Regions from separate parts of the Homo sapiens genome. Here regions 1, 2 and 4 are each linked to region 3. The links are contacts of gene promoters, found by promoter capture Hi-C in blood cells and fetal thymus (Javierre and others, 2016). All regions are on one chromosome and are shown on one strand. The core of a region is centred on a gene start or on the middle of the fragment in contact, and the rest is flanking DNA. Distances in the headings are between cores, read along the strand shown.

Region 1 (2,700 bases), core at 147-2,646, 580 kb after region 3:
AGGTAAAATGAATATTTTAAATATGTATACATAGAAAATATCTGGAATACTATCTACCAAACGGTTAACACGACACTAAGTGTTAAGTAGTGGGATTACAGGTATCTTTTGTTATTTGTTTTCCTTAGTTTTACTTATTTTTCTGCGGTGAACCTGTGACACATTTCTAATTAAAGATGTTGTATTCCTGGGTAATTTCTTGATTATAATGTGATATTTCTTCAGGTGCAAGTTGTGGAATGAATGCTTTCAATTGTTTTGTCTCTTGTGGTGACAGATGTGTATAACTGTGACTAGTAGCATATATACATATGTTTGAGATAGCCTAAGGGATTAGTTGGTGGTCAAGAAGCTAAGCTGTTGTGTTGAACTCAGCAGTGTTCTAACCAACCGATTTAACTGATTAAGAAATTTTCTTAAACATCAGCTATTCCAGTTATATTTTTATAACAATGACAATAGTAACAAGACTCAACAAAGACAAAAACAAACACTCCAGCTCTTTTATTTTTCATCTTAATGAATTCCTGAAGATCTGAGGCAGTGAAAAGGGAGCACTGATAGTTTCCATATTTTAAATATATAGATGTATATAATTATTATTGTGTTGATATAATTATTACTGTGTTGGTAACATGATGAATATCACTATTTCCTTTTTGTTAGGCTAAATCACTTTTAACTTTCCTAAACTTAAAAAACCTAAATTGCATGGGGTAGTGGAGAGAGTGGAATGGAGGGAGAGGCCAGCCTATACTGACAGTAAAGCTCCTAAACTAAGGCAGCCTTGGGAAGGAGATGGTGCTAATAGTCAATCCCTTGCAATTTGTTGACCTAGGGTGATGCAGAATGGAGATGTGGCAATAACAACTGGGCCATCTGCCATGTAAAGCTTTGAGGTTTAATGTAGAGTTGTTCTACTGGCTAGAGATCCCACATTGGATTAACAAATATGTATTGAATATTTATTTACCTTCCAATATTGTCTTCTTTGTAAATTTCAGATTAACCGAGCCCCAAGCTTTGGAACTGATCAGAAAATAGACTATGATGTAAAAAGGGGAGTGCTGCTAAATGCGTTGAAGCTACTAAACATAAGGTAAAATACTCTCTCTATCTTTTGGACATTTATCTCCACATTTGACATAGATTAATCATTTGTACATAAAATTGGCTTTTCAGAATAGTATATTTATTTTTATATTTTATAATTTTCATTTCTTGATTCCATCCATTTTGTATTTTTCATTTCTTGGTTCCATCCATTTTGTATTTTTCATTTCTTGATTCCATCTATTCTTTAAACTCATATAGTTAAAAAAAAAAATCTGTCCCCCCTACTCCTGTATACTGCTTTTCCTGCTTCCCAGGCAACAGTCTGTACCTGCAGTAAATGAGGTTAAATTTCAATGTAGGTATAATTATTTAATATAGAGTACAAGATTAAATTGGTAAATACTTTAAGAGACCCTCTAGATTATCTTCCTCATCTTATAAGAAGAAACTAAAGCACAAAGAGTTCATTCAGGAAATTAAAAAAAAAACTCAAACATGGATTTCCTAACTTTCTCTCCAGAGGTCTTCCCATTACATCATGCTCCCCATGTAAATAAAAAAGAGAGGCAGTTGTTTAGTGAGAGTTAACTTTTCCATTTAGAGAGGCAAGTAAAATTTGAGAAAAAACTTGGCTGGTAGGGATGTAGGGCTGGTTGCAGTGTACATGATCATGGGATTCAAATATTTGAAATGCTGTTATGTGGGAAAAGCTTTTGGCTCATTACAAAATGAATTTTTTAGATGTTTGACTGAAACACTTCCTGAAATAGTGAGTTACCTGTCATTAGAAATTTTCCAACAGAGCTTAGAGTATTGGATTAAAGGGCCTCTGAGGTGATTTAAGCTCAGTGATTTTATGATTTCAATTTATTTAATTGTCATTCAAGAGTTCTAGCAGAGTTATGGTATGCTTCCAAGCAATTTTTAAATTTAAGATGTTTCCAAACAATATGCCTATACATGTTTTTTGCATGAAAGTTTACTATTATTATTTAAATAAGCCTTGTGTTTAGTTTTTTTGTTGTGTGTGCATGTCTTTTGACGTTGCCATTTATGGTATCAATTCAGGACATTATCTGTGGGTGTTCTGGTGTTTTTAAAAGTGAGGTATGTATAGTTTAAGCAGTCAGAAATTTCTAGACTTAAAACTAAGGGAAAGTAGAAATTCATTTTCTTTATCTTTCTTAGTGTTGTTCCACAGAGAATTTAGCACAGTTCTTAACATTTAGAGCATATGCTAATGAGGCTTATGCTTCAGAAGTGCCTTCTTCCTCCAGCTGGGTGGAGAGCTCCATGGGTGCATGTGTTAGACTTGAGTTTCACTGGGCACATCACAGTATCTTAAGCAGGAACTAAGAACACTGGGAAAATTCTTGTCTATTTATTAAATAGAATTAATTTTCTTATGGAGTGCTTTAATTTTGGACAGAACGAATTGTTCTGTGAATCTAGAAATCCCCTACTTAACATTAATTTTAATCAGACTATTGGGAATGATCTTACTTTCATTATGTTATCTTTCTGCTCAAGAACCTAAATAGAATTCTGTTTACCAACATGTAGCCTAAGCTTCTAATATAACTTAACCTTAGCTGTTCTATCTTATTTCCTGTTTCTCTCCAACCCAAACTGTTTTAGTTAGGC
Region 2 (2,700 bases), core at 45-2,544, 550 kb before region 3:
GGGAGTGGTCAGAAATGAAATATCATCATGGTAGCTAGTGAATGTGTCCATGCTTTTCCAGGGGAGGTTGAATTGAATTTCCCTGAAACTTGAAGATATGTAAAAATTAGTTTTAGTTTTATTGATTGAGTGAACATCTAAAGAGTCAAGAAGTCATAATTGAAAATATTTCTCTGATTCTTTAAGGACATCTTGATAAGTTTCAGATTGGGTTTACAAAAGGACAATCTGATAAATTGATATGAGGTAGATTTTTACTAGTTATTTTGGTGAGTGACTCATTCTTTTTATGGATTTTTTTAAAAAGTTAGCTCAGAAACTAGGCGTGGAGGACCCTATTTTATGTCTGGAAGGGAGAAATGTTCTTGTTTGAGCCCTAAACTGCTGGGATTACTACATATTTTCCAAGCACTTGGGGAAACTACCACAACCTATTGCATGAGGAAGTGAGAATCATCTGAAGAGTACTCAGCTTCAGAAAGGAGAAAAAGAGACAAAAAAGCCTGACCCTGGGACAAAGATTTAGCTGTTGGAAGAAAGGGCCAATTTTGGCAATTCTAGAAAAAAAAATGGACTAGAACATCAATGAGAAATTAGGATCTATACAACATTAAAGTCAGGAGAAAGGCATTCTTAACTGCACAGAATAGCTTGAGTCTACTGGGGACTAAGGAGGACACAGGCCCCATGTGGCTCCAGAATTGCTGGTCCTTCCCATAAGAGAAGGCAGGGCTCTAGCACTCATCTGCAGTCTTCAGGCAGTAGATATCTCCAGAAGGGCCAAAGCAAGAGCTGTGGAGGTAAAAACAGGGCCATGTGGTAGCAGAGTGGACTTACTTGTCAGTATGGCTGAGACTTAACTCTCTACACCCAGAAATAGTTGGTGGTGGGAGAATCATTGTATGGTAGTGACAGTCCTACAATATCATAAAGCATTAAAAGCCAGTGAATATCAGTTCTACATGTATAATTTTTATTGTCATTAGAGCACTTAAATATTTTTTAAAGTGAAGTCACTCAAATATTGTATTTAAAGTAAGGAAATTATGTTGAAGCCTAAATTTGTCACTTTCTGCATAGGTGGCATTAGACAAGTTATTAAACTCTCTAAATCTCATCTGCAAAATTTGAGATGATAATGCTTTCATCAGAGCCAGGCCAGATAAAGGGCAAGAGCAACCACATTGAACAACTAAGGGTGAGGGCAACCAATGCTGCCCTAAGGGGCATTCTTCAAAAGATACCAAACTTCCCTGTAGTGAATTGTGAATAGGTTGTCAGTTAGTTTGGGTTTCCATAGGGAAATTTTTACATGCCAGGAGAGACATAAATGTATTCTTCTCTCAACCAAATAGCTTCAGATATGAAATAAAATCTATGTTGAAAAATTTTGCCATGTAAAAGTACCAATCATGAGGGTCAACCAAAAGGCAATACTCCCATTCCTGAGTTCAGCCTGCGTTGATACCTACATTTTGATTTAATTTTTTCAAGATGGAGTCTTGCTTTGTCACCCAGGCTGGAGAGCAGTGGCATGATCTTGGCTCACTGCAACCTCAGCCTCCCAAGTTCAAGCGATTCTTGTGCCTCAGCCTCCTGAGTAGCTGGGATTATAGGTGTGTGCCACCACGTCCAGCTAATTTTTTTGTATTTTTAGTAGAGATGGGGTTTCACCATTTTGGCCAGCCTGGTCTTGAACTCCTGACCTCAAGTGATCTGCCTGGCTTGGCTTCCCAAAGTGATGGGATTATGGGCATGAGCCACTGTGCCCGGCCTGATACTTATATTTTGAATAGTTCAGCACTCTCCCCAAAAGTTGTCTAGTTTGGAAAAGTGTGTTTTTAATAAGTTGTTTCAAATGTAAAGAAAGAATATATATGTTTATTAACAAAAATCAGTTTTTCCCTATTTCCACTAGAAAAACAGTGAACACATTTTTAAGGGGTATTAGTATGAACAGATACCAAATTACTAGCCTGTCCAGATTGCCCACAGATTTTAATCTGTCCCTTCCTCATAGCATTGCCATGAAAAACCAGATAGTGCTTCAAATGTGGCATATTCTCAATGAATAGCTGTGGAACCAGAATTAATCAAAATTCTGTTCAAAATGAATGTATAGACATTACTTCTGTCCTTTGGTGACTATTAAAAGTAGATTTGAGTATCCAACTGTCTACGAGACATTTCCACTTGGATGTTTAATACATAGTTATCTAAAGCCTGGCCTTTCCTTCAATGCCAGCCAGGAAATATTTGCTACTAGACCACTAGTTTATGAAATAATTGTTACCCAGCTGCAATAAAAGTAGTACTGAAATTGGGTGTTTAAAAACTTTTTAGCAAATTGACACAGTAACTTTATGTTATGTATGAACAAAATTGAGATTCGTATTACAAACGTCCTTATTTCATTCTTTTAGCAATTTATTTATGTTGTAATTTTACAGAATTATTAGTCTGTGAAAGAAATGAAAACAAAACCAAGTCAACTAACCCTTTAACAGATAGTCTGAGAAGCACTTTACAGACATCTCAAAAACACACTAAAAACTGAACTGCTGGTTCTCCCCAGATACCTGCTCCTCCTGCCATCTTTTTCATCTTAGCTGATGGCAATTTCATCTTCAGGGTCACTTTGCACAAACTTAAGAGTCATACTTCACACCTCTTCTTCCATCCTTCATACTTTTAGGATAT
Region 3 (2,700 bases), core at 123-2,622:
TAACATACCACGGTTCTAAGAGTTCAGTGATATATTTTACAACTACTGTAAAACAGATCATTCTTTGAATAGATACTTGTGTTTAATCTTACAAATCTGTAAAGTATGAATGACGTTTTAGCATTATACAGTCAACAAAGCACCAAAGGTGAAATAATTACAATACCTTTTGGGAAAAGACAATATTTATTGAGATAGCTTTCACATTCTTTTTACATATAATGTCATTTCATTCCGAAAAACAACTCTACGAAGCTGTATAATTTACTTTGAAATAAGGAAATAAAGCCTCAGTAACTTAAGTGGCTTGCCCAAGAATACCGTAAGTAGCAGAGCCAGAATTCAAACCCTGGTTTTAACCCCAATCATTACATCCGTATGAATTAAGTAAAATGCTAAACTTACGATGTACATTTTTGCGAACTGATATAAACTGTTGAGTAAATAAATTAGATTTTGTTGACCAGTGCAATTACACATGCTTCCCTAATAAAAAATTTGAAATCCATTAATGATAAAATTATTAACATTAATGGAAAACATCAGCGCATTCGGAGATTGACTACCCGAAAAGAAATAGGAAACATCTGCCCTTAGTGCTGTGACATAACACACATATTTCCGTGGATGAAAGAAAGACCTACTGGCTGAGCCTATTTTGTTTGGTTAGACCCTACCCTCTCTCCTAAAAACTCCTTTGGTACTCAATTTCAAGCAGGAGGTAATAAATTACAACGGAAATACTAAAGAGCAAACTTTCCGGAAACACAAAAATAAGTTTTATTTTAAAAAGTACAATAAGCATTAATTCTCCAGAGTAAATGGGTAACCGAGCAGACAGGTGTAATCTTCAGCCAGCACCTTGGCTTCTTCACAATCTCCTTCAGAAAAACCGATTCAAGAGCTAAGAAGCCAGTAAAGTCAAACCTCGAGAAGATCCCTTCTCCAGCGAATCAGCGCCCCTGCTCCCCGCCCGCCCGGCTCCGCTGGGTACGCGACAGCGACCTCCGCGCCTGCTCTCCGCCTCGGGTCAGCGGGGCTGGGGGTTGGGGGTGGAACTGAAAATGCCTGTTGGCCAAACTCGGGTCACAGAGAGACACGCCTGTACGGGGCGGGGGTGTGCGGGTGACTCACGCCGGGTGCACAGTAGCTCCTACGCCTCACCCAGTATCTCCCCTCACTTCCCTCAACCCTTCCCACAAACTGGGAGGAAAACTGAGACCTCCTGGTCACCCGCCGCCGGGCCTTTTAGAAACTCCCACAAGCTCTGCCTTCCCTCCCTGGTCCTCTTCAGACCCCCTCTTAGTTCTTCGCGGCTAACGGTAAGCTCTCTCCTTACCTCTCCCTAATCGGCCCCTCTGGAGAGGAAAAGAAAACTTAAGAGTCGGGTCGCGCTAGCCTCCAGCAGCCGCCGCGCCCACCGACTGCTCCGCCCCTTCTCCTCCCCCTCCTCCAGGCTCGCGCTCGGGGCCGGGTGTGGAGCTGGAACAGAGGGCTGGCAAGGCGCGCATGCGCACCGAGGGTGGAGCCGCTGAGCACAGAACCGGAAACTTAGAGACAAAGTTCGGAGCCCCGCCCCCGCCGCGCGCCGCTGAGTTGTCTGGCCCCGCCGACCCACGGCCCACGACCCACCGACCCACGAATCGGCCCGGCCGTCGCGTGCACCATGTCTGGCTCCTCCAGCGTCGCCGCTATGAAGAAAGTGGTTCAACAGCTCCGGCTGGAGGCCGGACTCAACCGCGTAAAAGTGAGCGGGGGCGGGCGGCCGAGGCGGGAGGAAGGCGGCGGCGGCGGGTGGGATCCGGCGGCCCAGCTGGCGGGGGCGGGCGGGACACGCGCCGGCCCTCGCTTCCCCTGGAGAGGACGCGCGCTCAGCGGCGGCGATCGGGGAGCGGCCAGCTTTAGAGCAGGCGCCGCGTGGGTCTACGCTGTGTTTTAGGGGGACGATTAGTTCGCCCTTCCGCCCCAGGACTTTCCGAGGCGGGCTGGCCCCTGGGTTGAACCGTGGCCGACATTCCGGTCCTCCTCCGTCTCTACCTCCCTTGGCAGCCTTCTCGGCTGGTCTCACCAACAGCTGCGCCTCCGCGCGCTGTCCGCACCCTTCCTTTCCCACTTTGCCAGCCTCCTGTTTCTCATCGGACAGGGTATTTTCCGACTTTTGATTCAGAGCAGACTTTTCTCCCATTTGATCTTTCCCAAACCTACTTCCTTTAGTATTAAATTCTTACCTTCAACTTCTCTTGTCCGTTGAACACATACTTTTAAGCGAATTATTGCATAACTTAAACTGTGGATTGAATAAGCATTTTTCGAAACGATCCTGGAGTGTAAAGTTCCGGTCAGTGCCCCGTACAACCTCGAACAAAGCGTGCATTTCATACCTATGGCACAGTTTGCTCATATTTGACCTTGGGGATATCGACTGGTCCGCATGCCGGAGAAAATGATTATTGTGGGTAATTATTGGTCTTATTTTGGCGTCTGGTTAGTATTGGCCTTGTCTTGGGGTACTTTGGGAGAAAAAGCCTTTTGTCTGTGTTGATAGAATAACTTGACATTCAAGTGCTGTTCTAAGTATTTCCTGATTTTTACAGTCCTAAATGGATTGGCTTCTTTCTGGTACAATAGGTCAGGCTACATGTGAAACACTTCTGCAGTTAAAAAAAGAAACAAGAATGTAAATCATGTGCCCTGTTAAAA
Region 4 (2,700 bases), core at 138-2,637, 590 kb after region 3:
GAAATAATAGCTTTCCACCAATTTGAGAATCTAAGAAACATTAGCTACATAAATAATAAATATCACATGAAGTATTAGGTTGGTGCAAAAGTAATTGCAGTAAAATATTAGCAATGTTCTTTTTATTAAGCTGGGTGATAGGCATGTGGGTGTTTATTCTTCATATATTTATACATTTTTTATATATAGCCTACTTCATAATAAAATTGGACATAAAAAATAAGTAGTATGGTTGTGCCATAACTCAATGCCAGTTTACAAATTCCATTTTGTAGTTAAGACACTATTTAGAGTTTATGTTGCTGTGACTGCTAGTTAATTATTGCTTGAACAGTGTGTTGGTCAAAAAGTCCCAAGTGCATATAAGACACAAAGGCTCAGCTGTACGTTTCCCCTTGTGATTCTTTATAGGGTCGAATAACTCATTATGTAGTCAAGCTCTTTAAGAACACTTAAAGCTGTTTGCTACATGAAGGAAGGCACTACTAGCAAGCCTGATTGTGCCACTCTTTCTTCTGGGTATGCTAAACTTCTGAGGAAACAACCTTCCTCTAGAATTCATATTCCCCAAGATTGTCAAAATGTTTGATGATTGTGTTACTGGTAAATGTTTTTATGCATATCTCTTTGAACATTGTCAGTACTTAGTAAATATTAGACCATCAGAAGGAGCACATGCTTTTAAACACAAGTTGGTACCTTAGTGAATTAAACTACTTTCCTGCTTTGGTTATTTTTCATCCTTTGCAAAGACTGTAAATTTAAGAAGATCATGCTTTTTGGCTCACTCTGTATTCCAGGCACTTCATGAAATGCTATTTCTGTCTTTATTTTTATTCTACACTGTTACACTAGAGGGTATACCTTCTTTCAGTGAAATCCCCATGCTATCCAAGGATTTCATTATAGTGTATGCTAACATCAAAACATTTTTGTTTGATTTAACAGAAAACAAGCAACTAGTATACAACTGAAGGAACCTCTCCCATCAGGAATAGGAGGCATATGGTGTGTGTAATAAATAGTCTCTTAGAATGACTGAGTTATAAAACTGTCTTGTTCTTGGTTATGCACATTCTTTCTGATGTGAAGCTGTCCCACGTCCCTTTCCTTCCATTCCTTCAGCTGGCATCATTGGAAACACATTGATTGGGAGGACTAGAAACAAGTGATTCTAATAGGGATGGTAACACGTAACAGCATGGCATTTTCAGTCTTTACAGATCTTCCATTCTCTATTAGAGAAATTTATCCTTCCTCCATGAAAATTTACCCATACTGATCTTCATATTATATTATTAATTTTTAAAATGTAGCATGGGCAATGAAAAGTTATGTCACTCTATTATGGCCAGAAGCTACGTGCCAGAGTTAGGAATACTCTGAGAAAAGACATCAGTTGTTCTTGAGCAGTTTGGAAAATGGACAGTTAACTAAAAATTTTATTTTTATAAATATCCACAGCCAGTTAGTCTTGTAAGGGATACCTAACTTCTTCCTGCACATTGTCTGAATGGATAGGCTCACAGGCAATGTTTTAGTATTCTTATTCTCTTTATCCTTTTTGTCTCTCTTTCTCCTCCCACCCCCTCACACACACAAACACAGACACACACACACCACACACATACACACACAGATGCACTTGCACGTGCACATGCATACACATTTATTGAGTAACTCTGAACGTTAATGATAAGACAAAGGTAGATCTCTGAGTCTTGATGAGTAATCTCTTATGGAATGAAAAAAGCTGATTATATTTCTTATTTTTATATTTTTATCTCAAATATTTTCCCTTTATTTTGTTATTCTTTGTTTATGGATACTCTGGCCCTTTATTCCAATCATGTAGGAACAACATATTCCTCATCATGACTATATCATTTAAGAAAGAATATTTTGCAGAAACAACAATCAATGCATAGCACTGTAGGCTAAGCAGCATGGCAGCAATAGTATTTGGGGGGATTCTCAACCTTCAGTAAAAAGCAGCAAGCATAGGGGGAAATTAAAAATAGTAACTAATCATATCAATAAACCTTTTTTAAGAATTCTAACAAAATAACACATTTCCATCTTTTTTAGCCTCTGTGTTCTATGCCTGAGAGTACTGAGATAATGAAAAGACCAAAGTACTGCAGCAGTGACAGCAGTTATGATAGTAGCAGCAGCTCTTCAGAATCTGACGAAAATGAAAAAGAAGAGTACCAAAATAAGAAAAGAGAAAAGCAAGTTACATATAATCTTAAACCCTCCAACCACTACAAATTAATTCAACAACCCAGTAAGTCAATTTCTTCTAATTTAGATGTTATATAAAGAATTATGGAACTGAAATTATTAAACTCAGTAAAAGGTCCTTGGGCCAAATGAACCCTGTTGTGTGTGAGGAGACCTGGATTCCATCCCACTTCCTTCCCTAACCAGACTCGGGCACATCCCTTAATTAAGCCCTTTCAAGATCTGCAAATAGAAAACGAAAGGGCTGGATTAAGGATCTATTCTATATTTCATCGTTTTTGTTAGGTGCCAGATTTTTGCCTGGGTTTTGTAAAATGTGCCTCATGGCTGATCTGATGATTATGTGTCTCTTAAGCCAATATATTCTCTCTCATTCAATTTCTGCCTCTCTACTTCCTTCACCCACTTTGTTTTATACTATCACTTATTATATATTTTTCAAAAAGTATGTATATC

What was found. Contacts are between HindIII fragments. The CHiCAGO score rates a contact against its expected background, and 5 or more counts as called.
Region 1: a contact is called between a fragment that was not itself captured here and the fragment with the promoter of SPATA1 in region 3, in 1 of 17 cell types (erythroblasts). The highest score is 8.4, in erythroblasts.
Region 2: a contact is called between a fragment that was not itself captured here and the fragment with the promoter of SPATA1 in region 3, in 1 of 17 cell types (M0 macrophages). The highest score is 6.3, in M0 macrophages.
Region 4: a contact is called between a fragment that was not itself captured here and the fragment with the promoter of SPATA1 in region 3, in 2 of 17 cell types (megakaryocytes and erythroblasts). The highest score is 5.9, in megakaryocytes.

The regions. Positions count from the first base shown.
Region 1 is chr1:83,927,535-83,930,234 of GRCh38, reverse strand. TTLL7 (tubulin tyrosine ligase like 7) reads left to right here. Exons shown (of 21, transcript NM_024686.6): 10 at 1,005-1,099. Among named protein-coding and RNA genes, the nearest start is that of TTLL7-IT1, 55 kb to the left of the region's middle. The HindIII fragment of the contact is 745 bases long and covers 1,024-1,768 here.
Region 2 is chr1:85,056,201-85,058,900 of GRCh38, reverse strand. No RefSeq gene overlaps it. Among named protein-coding and RNA genes, the nearest start is that of DNAI3, 4.8 kb to the left of the region's middle. The HindIII fragment of the contact is 3,131 bases long and covers 1-2,700 here.
Region 3 is chr1:84,505,058-84,507,757 of GRCh38, reverse strand. It overlaps SPATA1 (spermatogenesis associated 1), which reads right to left and starts at 1,372. Exons shown (of 14, transcript NM_001397487.1): 1 at 1,340-1,372. It overlaps GNG5 (G protein subunit gamma 5), which reads left to right and starts at 1,177. Exons shown (of 4, transcript NM_005274.3): 1 at 1,177-1,322; 2 at 1,457-1,747. The coding sequence starts at 1,667. RefSeq lists silencers at 1,452-1,531, 1,782-1,911. The HindIII fragment of the contact is 7,618 bases long and covers 1-2,700 here.
Region 4 is chr1:83,910,752-83,913,451 of GRCh38, reverse strand. It overlaps TTLL7 (tubulin tyrosine ligase like 7), which reads left to right. Exons shown (of 21, transcript NM_024686.6): 15 at 2,089-2,287. Among named protein-coding and RNA genes, the nearest start is that of LINC01725, 51 kb to the right of the region's middle. The HindIII fragment of the contact is 3,816 bases long and covers 1-2,700 here.